Linked DNA regions of Homo sapiens: regions 1, 3 and 4 are each linked to region 2. Evidence: promoter capture Hi-C in human tissues and cell types (Jung and others, 2019). All regions are on one chromosome and are shown on one strand. Each heading gives the region's core, a stretch centred on a gene start or on the middle of the fragment in contact. The rest is flanking DNA. Distances are from core to core; before and after follow the strand shown. Region 1 overlaps ATP9A (ATPase phospholipid transporting 9A (putative)). Region 2 holds the start of ZFP64 (ZFP64 zinc finger protein). Region 3 overlaps TSHZ2 (teashirt zinc finger homeobox 2). Region 4 overlaps TSHZ2 (teashirt zinc finger homeobox 2).

Region 1 (2,700 bases), core at 180-2,679, 520 kb before region 2:
AGGTGAGGCGATCACTTGAGCCCAGGAGTTCAAGTCCAGCCTGGGCAACACAGTGAGACCTCGTCTCTATAAAAAATAAACCAAATTAGCCAGGTGTGGTGGTGCATACCCAGTGCACACTTGTAGTCCGAGCTACTTGGGAGGCTGAGATGGGAGGATTGCTTGAGCCCAGAAGTTTGAGGCTGCAGTGAGCTGTGATTGCACCACTGCACTCCAGCCTGGGTGACAGAGTGAGACCCTGTTACAAAAGAAGGAAGGGAGGTGGGGGGGGGGGGGGGCGGAAGGGCTGGGAGTGGGCGAGGGGCTGGGGGAGGGGAGGGAGGGTAAGGAAAGGAAGGGAAGAAAGGGAGAAGGAAAAAAAAAAAAAAGGCCGAAGGGGTGATCTAGTGATCGGGTGGGAGCAGGTACTGGAGAAGGGGCAGTGGCTGTCAGCTGGGGTGACGAGGGTACCAGGATGGAGGGCGTGGTGTGCACTAAGACAAGCAGCCCTGGGAGAGAATAGGTTTAGGAGATGAGGGAAGAAAGTCAGGAGGGGTCCCAGGTACAGCATCCTTATGAGCCACATGCAGCAATGCCAAACATTCGGCTACGTTATAATCCAAAGCTCCAGGTCAGGCCTAGAGATGGAGATGGAGACAGAGCCATCAGCATCCACAGAGCGATGGAAGCAGGGTGAGGGGCCATCCGGGGAACAACATAACAGAGTCCAGCACCGAGCCCCAGAGACACCAACCCCAAATCACCACACAGAGGAAGACGGTCAAAGAGACAGAAAGGAAACGGGGGCTGTGCGGCTCATCCTCCCTGTCCAGGGAAGTTCCTCGTGATTTCTTAATAGTGCTAAAGTACATCTTTGAAAAAGGTCCATGGATCCATTTGGAGACCAGCCATGACGCCTCCCCATGGAGCCTGGAACAGCAACAAGGGCTTTGTTGCTGGTTGTAGATGATGACAAGAACTGTGTCAAGTCAGCTGTTCTAACTTAACATCCACTCCCACTGTCACACTGTCCCCTGCTCTGCCATTTTCAGGAGACAGCCTGGAAATCCAGCCCACTGACAAATGTTCCAGAAAATTAAATGTCAGTTATGACCGTATCAAGAAGTATTCAGGGATTCTGCCTTTAACCTGTATACAGAGATAATTCATTCATATTTCTTACTGGTCTTCTGACTATGGGAATGTTCTCTATTTCGACGAATTTAAGCAAAATATGACCTCCTTATTCTCTTGTTATCTCCAAACAAGTGCTGCAACATGGAGCTGGTCTAACGCGGTCTGGCTCAGCCTTGGATGTGCCTCAGAATTAGCAAGGGGTGTGTTTGTCTTACTTTTAAAACCCAAAGCCACGCCCTGCCCTAAGTCTTAATGAGTAAGAATCTCCAGGGTATCAAGCCCAAATAAATGTCTCGTTTTTGTTCTGTGTTGTTTTGAAACTCCACCAGCAATTCTGACACACAGCCAAGATGGGGACCCACCGGTCTAACACTTTAGGAATATTAGGATATTTGCCAGTAATACTTTCTCTGAAAAGTGACTGGTTTTGGGAAACTTGGTAGGAAAAATAAAGGTAGGAACAGATAAACTGCAAGTTATCTCTGATGAACTAATTTCTTCCTCGTGATTGTTGAGTTGAATGTAGATGAGAAACTAAAGGTAATCAGTAACGTCATGATTATTTCACAAGCAGACCATTTGTTATTGGTGCTCCGGGTCATAGCCAGGGAAAGGGAAAACATCAACGTGGTCGTAAACTTGAAGTATAATCAACCAGCAGGTTCCTTCTGGTTCTATTTATTGGGCATATAATTTTCTCACAGGTTTTTCCTAATGTCCATCAGCACTTCAGCAGAGCAGATTAGCCCTGAAGATAGGGAAGATGGGGAAGGACCCCAAATGCAATTTTATTCAAAGTGTAAAGGAAGTGTGGGTGTCATGGGTATAGAAGGGAGGTATTGGGGAGTGACTGCTGATGGGTAGAGGGCTTCTTTTTGGGGTAAACATAAAATCGATTGCAGTGACAGTTGCTCAACTCTGAATATGCTTAAAAAAAAACAATGAATTGTACTCTTGAAATGGGTGAATTGTACGGTATTGTGAATTACATCTCAATATAGCTGTTAAAAAAAAAAAGTCAAAGAATTGTTTTGGGTGTTGAAATGGAAGGCTTTACCTGGGTGTAAATGCTGAAAATGTGGCTTTGTACTTCGTCCATTGAGTCGAGGCCGTAGGCTACTGTTCCGAGATGGAGCCGTTTGAAAATCATCTCGTTCTGGGTAAGAGTGCCTAAAACACAAGACAAATGAGTGGCCGGCCTGTCTCTCAGGATGTTTGTTATTATTAACAGTAATGACAGCTGCCATCTTTGGAGAGTTTGCCCTATGTCACACACTGCAGTCAGTACTGTCCCTGCTGGGGAAGACACCTGCAGCATTTTGCCTGCCTAGAATCCCATTCCCCTTTTGAAAATGGCTTCCTAGCTTTCCCAGGGGAAATTAACCACACCATGCCCATTACCTAAGGTGGCCCAAGAGGACTGTCAATCAGGGGCCTGGCCCATTCCGTTGGCCAAGAGGGTGACAAATGACATACACTAGAGCAATCAGATTCTATCTCGAAGGATTCTGACCCTTGAGTAGAAAGATACATCCCTAATGGCAGAGCCCTACAGAGACCACCTGGAGGGTCCTAATGCTGACT
Region 2 (2,700 bases), core at 183-2,682:
AAGTAACGACATAGACCTTCGTTAGAATCTTGACACTGTCGCTTAACAACAGTGACTTTAAGCGTGGGTTTTCTCATCTGAAAAATGGGAGGAGAGGTTTCTAATCCATGGTTTTTGTTTGTTTTTAATTTCTCCAAGAAAAAACACGGGCTTGTTATGAGAATTAAATGGGATGGTGCTCGTACCAGCACAGTCCCCCCTCCCCGCCAGTCCCCCAGCATGTTACCTGCTGGGTTCTTACTGAGGTACACTATTTAAACATGGACATATCTGAGCCCCACCTAGGAGATACTGAGTCATAACAGGGTGGGGTGGGGAGGATGGTGTTTAGGAAAATCTGTGCTTTTCACAGTAATGCAAGGAATACACCGCCAAGTTTGGGACCCAGTGTCTCCCAAACTGTTAACAGTAGCAGCTAACAAGCTGGGAGCTTACTATGTGCCAGATTTTCTGCAAACCCCTGGTAGATGGGTTCTCAAACTTCATGTGCTTCAGAGTTGCCCAGGCAGCTACGAAGGACAGCGGATCCCCAGCCCCACCCCCGAGATTGAATGGGTGGGGCCCAGAAAGCTGTTTTAAAATACACGCTCTCGCTCCCAGGTGGCTGGTTGCACTCAGTCTCTGGACCACACTTTGGGAAACAATGCACCGGGAGAAACCAGGGACTTGAAAAACGCTGATGTCCTCCTCGGTTAAATAAAAACTGAACCCCAAACCCAAATAAAGCGACCACGGCCCCGTTTTCCATTCAGATCTCCACCCTTAATGAGGAAAAGGCTTTGCAATGAGCCGGCAGGACCTCGTGAGACCTGGTGATTCCCCCAATCTCCAGGCTCTAATTTTGAGCCACTGAGGCAGAAGTTTTCCCATCAGTGTTGCCCCGTTTACCCTAGATTCCTCCCTTTCTCCTGCCCGCCCCAAACTCCGCCTGATGGGGCGGGAATGCCCTTAGGGGGTGGCGATTGTCTGAACGGCGTGCCCTCCCCCACTGTTCCCTTCCAAGGGGTCTCGCAAGGCTGGAGAGCGCCCCCGGTCTTGCGCCAGGTCGGGTGCGCCCCCACCCCAAGCCCACTCCGGCGCCCCCTGCACAGCGCGCCCGCCGCGGTCCCCGAGACGCGGCTCCGAGCCGTCACCCCGATTTCGGGGCCCCGGGCCTGCTGGCTGCGTCGCAGACGTGCTTGGGCCCGGGCCCCGGAGCGCGCACTGGGCCCCGGAGCGCGCACTGCTCCCGGAAAAGCACTTACTTTGCACCGAGCCCGCGAAGCTCTCGCCCTCGCTGCTCGCGTTCATGGCCGCAGACTGGGAGGTCCCCGGCCGGCCGGGATGCCAAAGTGGGGGACGCTGATCTACATGGTGCAAGGACTTTTCCTTTTATTTTTCCACACCCCCCACCCTGCCTTCTCCCAACTCTGCGAGGCGGGGAGGACGGATGTAAAGCAAGCTGCACTTCCGCTGCCTAGAGGGCGCTGGCCGGGCCCGGCGCCCCAACCTGGCTTTGCAGCAGCGGCTCCCCGGGGAAGCGGCGGGCGAATCCCGAGGCCCAGGCCCGCGGAGCCCCCCAACGCCCCCGGGGAGCTGGATGGCCACGCGCGTCCCGGCGTGCTGGGCGACCGCGGGTGGCGAGGGATGCGCCCCTGCCCGCACTCTGCGTTCTCCGCGGACGCGATTGGCCTCCCCGGCTCGGGGCGCCTTTTGCACCTGCAACCCCAGGCGTTGGGCCCCCAGCGCGGCCGTGCAGCAGCGCTGCTCCCGGGACGCCTGGGTGGTTTGCGGGGAGACCCACGTGCGGCTGCCGTTGCGGGGTGGGTGCGCGGGGCGCGGCGAGCTCCGGAGAAACCCAGGTTGGGCGTGAGCGCTGGGCAAATCAGCAAAGCGCTGGGCGGGTCCCTTGCCCCGCTAGGGAGACTGAGAGGACCGCGAAGAGGTGGGGTCGTAGCGCGGAGGGACCCCTGCTCCAGGAGCTGCCAACTTTATCGTGCATCGCAGTCGCCTGAAAGGCTTGTTAGAACACACGCTGTTGGGCCCACCCTAGCGTTTCTGCTTCAGTAGGTCTGGGGCGAGGCGTGAGAACGAGCATTTCTAAGTTCCCAGGTGATGCCCCTAGTGTTGGTCGGCGTCCACACTCTGAGGACAGTGACCTCTCTGCTCTGTCCCTCATGTCTTACTACTACTGTCTCCCCCGGGCTCCTGCGTCAGCCCTATTGTCTCTCTGCCGACCCTCCCAAGCCTCAGACCTCTCCCAGCCTCGAGGGATTTGCCCATAGAGTCTGTCCTGCTTCTGAAGGTCAGCATTCAAATTCACACTCAGGGAGGCCATGCTTGGCCTAATCTAATCATTCTAATATTGCAGCCCCCTCCTCCTCCCCCAACCACTCCCTGTCTCCTTCCTGTTTTTTTCTTTTTCTTTTTCTTTTCTTTTCTTTTCTTTTCTTTTCTTTTCTTTTCTTTTCTTTTCTTTTCTTTTCTTTTCTTTCTTTCTCTCTCTCTGCCTCTCTCTCTTTCTCCCTTTCTTTTTTTAGAGAGGGGGTCTTTCTCTGTCTCTCAGGCTGGAAGAGTGGTCGGATCCTAGCTCATTGCAGCCTCCAACTCCTGGGCTCAAGCAATCCCCCCTACAGGCGTGGGCCACCACCCTGGCTCACTTTTTAATTTTTATTTTTGTAGAGATGTTGCCCAGGCTGGTCTCGAATTCCTGGCCTCAAG
Region 3 (2,700 bases), core at 164-2,663, 960 kb after region 2:
CCGTATTAATAACTGCAACAACCACCTGAACCATTGACCTTATAATTCTGAAGATTAACCAGTTAGTATTTATAAAGCATTTGATGTTATTTTTTCAGTTGATGGGAATAGCTACATTTCAGTGGCCTGTAATTCTTAATTCATTGATGTCTTCTTCTTCCATTTTGATGCTAAGGTTGATTTTGTGCCCAATGTATTAATTACATGCTTTTTGTTTTTTATTCTTTGTGATCTCAACTCAGCTTATTACATATTTTTTGTTTCCTCATGTGACTCTCATTATTGGCTTTATACATGGATAAATCTATCTGTCTCTTCTAAATTAACTTTGATCTCTTTTAGTGACAATTGATGGGTGACAACCTTAGATATTATACATGGTGCCTGGAAACTGGGCTCAGCTTTCTTTTCATCCCCTTTTCTTTCAGTAGGTCAAAGAATGTCTTTAATATCTCTGTATAAACTCCATTTTGAAGATTTGTATGTTAACAGTTTTGTGCTATCATCTACAAAAAAGGCATAGACACAAAAGTTTAATTGTAGTCCTACCTTCTTCAATCCAGTCTAGAAACTTAAATGTTCACAAAGATTTAATAATATTGTTTAATGAATACTAATTCAATATTTTTCAAAGCTTTAATAATGTCATGTCATAATATCATTAGAAAAGAAATTTTTGATTGTTGGTTGCCATATCACTGTGGTATTAATGTGATTTGTGTGAGACTAAGATTTCTTTTTGTTTGTTTTAAACCAATATTCAGTTCCATCATATCTATGCATAAGACATGCATAAAATAAGTGGTGGGTCTATTTTGTTTTGTTTTGTTTTGTTTTGAGACAGAGTCTCATTCTGTTGCCCAGTCTGGTGTGCAGTGGTGCCATCTCTGCTCACTGCAACCTCCACCTCCTGGGTTCAAGTGACTCTCCTGCCTCAGCCTCCTGAGTAGTTGGGATTATAGGCATGCACCACCACGCCTGGCTAACTTTTGTATTTTTAGTAGAGCTGGGGTTTCACCATGTTGGTCAGGCTGGTTTGAATTCCTGACCTTGCGATCTGCCCGCCTCAGCCACCTAAAGTGCTGGGATTACAGGCGTGAGCCACCATGCCCGGCCAGTGGGTCTATGTCTTATAACAAGATTTGTGTTGTTGTTACACAGCTTAAAATAGAGGCATTTGCACAAACCTGATAAATACAAATGTGTCTTTTGGAAAGTCTCTAAATTCCTACAGCTAATATTTTCTATATCGTACTATTTAGTGTTTAATTATCTACGAACTTCAATTGATCACATGAATGTTATTTCTCTTTGGGGATTTGATCTCAAATGTCTAGAACAGTGGTTCTCAACTGGGGCAACTTCATTTCTCAGGGCACATTCTGCATTGTCTGGGACACTTTTTATTGAAACAACTAGGGTGGGGAAGCTGTTAGCATCTAGCGTGTAGAGGCGAGAGTTGCTGCTAAGCTTCCCACAGTGCACAGGACACCGCCCACCACACAGAGTGATCCAGCTTCGAACCTCAATAGTGTTGAAGATGAGAAATCCTGCATAGGAAGAATTTTGCTTTCTATTTCTTAATTTCTTGTTCTGGATATAGTACAGGCCTGACACCCTGTAGATGCTCATATTCAATTTGAGAATGTGGCTGAGTTTGCCTATTAAATCAGGACCCCAAGTGGATCTAAGTGCAGTGGTTTTGATTGAAAGAAAAAAAAAGTTTTTGCATTCAATATGTATGGATCATGGGGTGGGGGTTGATACAAAATAGAAAAAATATATAGATAAAGAAAATGAAGACATCTCCCAATCTTTTCTGAGATTGCCATCAACATAAAAGGCAGGTTATTAATCTTCAGGGTACAGTCTTTGTATGGAGGGAATCCCTTGGGGGTTATTGGAAATTTTATTGCTTTTCATTGGACTCAGTGTAAAATGGGGTAATTTAGGCTTAACAAACAAAGCTCGGGTTGACTCACTTTTTTTCAGAGGCTCCAGAAAGAGAATTCTCACAGAGCAGGAATCAACCTTTTCCTCCATAAATCACAGGAGGAGGTGAGAATTTGGCTAATATCCAGAGCACTGCAAAGAAATAAACAATGCAAAGCAATCTGTGGCTTACTTGATGCCAGTTTCTCCGTAGATAAATATTTCTGTGTTTTGATCTTATACATTCTTCCCCCTCAAGCTGAAACTTTTTCTGTCTCTCTTCCAGTCTGTCTGTTAGGCGAGGCCTTGGGAGCAGGATCCTGACAATGTACTGGTCAGCTCTTTTAGGGTTTTTTTTTTTTTTTTAAAGTTGATTTCCTCTGCTGGTGAGCCATACATCACTGACATCCCTGTCTGTGCTGCTTGTCTGTGACAGAATGACAGGTGTCATTTGTCACTGGGGCTTGCGGAAGCTGTGGGAAGAGGGATTGAAATTTTTTTTCTGGAAGGGCTCAGTGTCTGCCAGATCATTAAAAAGGGGGCTTTCCAAAGAAAGCTGTGTGTAATGTGATTGCACTTACTGTCAACGATAGGCTAAAAGAAAGAGAGAACATCAAAAGGGAGTGAGAGAAAGAGGGGGAGGAAAGAGAGGAGGAGTTTCTGCCAGGGGCATTTAAAGTTCTTGAGCTGCCAATGCAAGGATCTGCTTTAGTTCAGTTCTAGTGTGTGCATGCTAAATAAGTCCTTCAGAGATTTCCGCTCAGCTCA
Region 4 (2,700 bases), core at 154-2,653, 810 kb after region 2:
ATGTGCGTGTGTGTGTGTGTGTGTGTGTGTGTGTGTGTGTGTGTGTGTGTGTGTGTTTGGGAGGGGGTGCTGATATTTTTTTAAATGCAGATGGTTTTGTTCTCTGTAGTTGAAGCTTCAGTTCAGCAGCTCTGAGACAAACAGGAAAGCCTGTGTTATTCTCTACAGGAACACATCAAAGGTAGTTTCTGGCAACAGTCAAAATGTATATCAAGGAAGGAGAAAGGATTCATGACCTGTTTGAACAACTAGTGTTAAAAACACATTCGAGAAGAAATAATGCTAGGTAGAGGATGAAAGGAAAATAGGAGAAAGGAAGACCCCTTGCTTCACTCAGACCTAAAGATGATTGTTTCTCACCATTGCTAGCTTTTTCAAGAATAAGGAAGCGAAAAAATCACCTGTCTCATTTATCATCTGACAGGGGAGCTAAACTCTGCTGGATGAAACTTTTTCTTTTGCCCCAGACTAAATAAAGCCCCACCTCGTCTTCTGTTTCATTTTGAAAGAAAAGAGGTAAAACATGCACAACTAAAACACTTGTTTAAAAGTGTGTGACATTTCAGGAAGGTTTAACGTTACGTATGTCTTCCCTATTGAGTTTCATAAACAGAGTATCATTGTTTGATAGTGGCATAGCTGTGGTTTTGAGAAGGCTTGTCTAGAACGGAGTTCCTGAGCTGCTTGGATGATATTTCACTGCTTTGATGGAGAACGGACTAAAGAACATCATTGTGACCTTTTTATCAAGGCTTAAAGGAAGTATAAAAAGAAAACGGAAGTTGTCAACACTCACCAGGCTCTATTGTGAGGCACACAACCAACCCAGGGAGGAAAATCTAAGGTTGCTTTTGTCACCTTAACTCACATCACTTCATTGTAGTACAAGTGAGAGCCGGAACTTATTGGACACTTACTCTGTGCCACACAGGCTTTGGGTGAATTTTTGCATTTTAATTCTCACCCCAGTAAAGAGACATAATGGTATCCATGTTAGAAATGACAAAGAGGCACACAGTGAAGTCAGGTGACTCGGCCAAGCTTCTGCAGCTGCTTAGAGGCCAGGCTGATCTACCTAGCCAGGGGTACCTGACTTCCAAGCCCGTGCTGTCGACCCTTCTGGTTTAACTCTGAGTAAATTTCATACTTTGTGGAGCGTCCATCAGCCAATCACAATCTAAAAATAATACAAAATGAAAGAAACTGTCATACATTATCTTTTTTTCATCTTCCTAACAAATAAGCTGGCATGATTATTCTTTCCATTACCCTGAAAAATAAACCAAGGCTCAAGGAGAGGTCATGGTCTGCCCCAAACCACAGCCTCCATTCTCTGGCTTGAAATCTTATGCTTTTACCCACCTTTTGATGTTACCTCTTAAGTGATGTTGCCAGAATTAGCAATAAAATAAATTTATAAAAAAGAAAATAAATATTTTTATTTATAAAAAATAAATTTATAAAAAAGAACAGGATGCACAGTTAAATTTGAATTTCAGATAATATAAAAGAATGTTTAGTATAAGGATGTCCAGTACAGTATTTGGGACCTACGGGCAAGCTTTAAAGAACATAAGTTTTATCACATTCTCCAGGTACGACGTGTGTATTAATAAATCAATAGAAGTTTATCTGTGAGCAGTTATCTCAGTTTTTTAATTCCTAAGTCTTCATGTTCTGAAGAAATGGCCATCACCTTGCATTCCCAGGGCCTATTGATTATGAGGCTTCATAAACCTTAGGACTTGAGAGAACAGCTGGGATTCCTTCCCAGTTGCTAACCAATGACTTCATAATGTAATGGACAGCTCTAAATTGTGCTTCTACGTTGTAGACATAATAAGAGACACACTAAAGGACAAATACATTATCTAATAAAGCTGCCTCGAGCTTAAGAGATAACAAAATGTCAAAACTAAATTCTTTTTCTAAGCACTTCCAGTATGAAATTTAGTTCACCGTCCAGGTACTGTCCTTCATTGTGGGGAGAAACATCCTGCCTGTCTACCTGGGGTTCTATTTTATTTCATCAGCCTCCTGTTTTTCTCCAGGGATGGTGTGTGTGTGTGTGTGTGTGTGTGTGTGTGTGTGTGTGTGAAATTTTTTCCTAAATATTAAGTCAGTGCACCTTCCTCGCAAGCGCTGGACAGCTCAGGATCTTATTTTGGAAGCTCGAGGTATGAGCAGGCCTGAGAAAATTGTGGCCCTTCTTTTTACTCCTTCCCTCTGTGAACTTTTGAGAAGATTCCTTAGTGATCGGCTTACACGCTTTCAAACTGGCACGCCTGTAATCTGGTAAAATGTGTCAGCCCTATGGAGAAATAAGCCTTCCAGAAGAGTTTCTTCATTGTTGAGGTAATTGTCTCCTCTCTGACAGGCACATTCATCAGTGGCTTAATGGTCAATCACTAGTTGGCAGGCAGAGTGTTTTCATTCTTCCCTATCCACTACATTAGGCATACTTAATCAAAATGTCTCCGGGTAATGGCTGTGAAGAGTTCATGACTGACTGATCCGTTGTCTGTGCTGATAGAAAATTAACAGCTCAGTGCTGGAAAGATGCGAGCCCACAGATAAACAAATTGTACATTAATATTTCATCTTGGGGACCTGGGATGTGCTGTCCATAGCAAAATATTTCCTGGCTGCACAAGCAATTCTTTCTTTCCTTCTCTTTCCTTCTTTTTTTTCTTTTTCTTT

Evidence for each region. The method cuts DNA at HindIII sites, captures the fragments that hold promoters and counts their contacts. A contact is called where the count stands out against the background at its distance.
Region 1: a contact is called between a fragment that was not itself captured here and the fragment with the promoter of ZFP64 in region 2, in 1 of the 25 tissues and cell types used here (dorsolateral prefrontal cortex).
Region 3: a contact is called between a fragment that was not itself captured here and the fragment with the promoter of ZFP64 in region 2, in 1 of the 25 tissues and cell types used here (dorsolateral prefrontal cortex).
Region 4: a fragment that was not itself captured here is called in contact with the fragment with the promoter of ZFP64 in region 2 in 1 of the 25 tissues and cell types used here (pancreas).

The regions. Positions count from the first base shown.
Region 1 is chr20:51,667,824-51,670,523 of GRCh38, forward strand. It overlaps ATP9A (ATPase phospholipid transporting 9A (putative)), which reads right to left. Exons shown (of 28, transcript NM_006045.3): 13 at 2,174-2,286. Among named protein-coding and RNA genes, the nearest start is that of ATP9A, 99 kb to the right of the region's middle. The HindIII fragment of the contact is 5,724 bases long and covers 1-2,700 here.
Region 2 is chr20:52,190,347-52,193,046 of GRCh38, forward strand. It overlaps ZFP64 (ZFP64 zinc finger protein), which reads right to left and starts at 1,433. Exons shown (of 6, transcript NM_018197.3): 1 at 1,245-1,433. The coding sequence starts at 1,290. RefSeq lists enhancers at 288-1,144, 2,185-2,314 and silencers at 905-1,144, 1,505-1,774. The HindIII fragment of the contact is 31,514 bases long and covers 1-2,700 here.
Region 3 is chr20:53,146,898-53,149,597 of GRCh38, forward strand. All of the region lies in intron 1 of TSHZ2 (teashirt zinc finger homeobox 2), which reads left to right. Among named protein-coding and RNA genes, the nearest start is that of TSHZ2, 180 kb to the left of the region's middle. RefSeq lists a silencer at 2,319-2,519. The HindIII fragment of the contact is 3,082 bases long and covers 1-2,700 here.
Region 4 is chr20:53,001,200-53,003,899 of GRCh38, forward strand. All of the region lies in intron 1 of TSHZ2 (teashirt zinc finger homeobox 2), which reads left to right. Among named protein-coding and RNA genes, the nearest start is that of TSHZ2, 30 kb to the left of the region's middle. The HindIII fragment of the contact is 3,150 bases long and covers 1-2,700 here.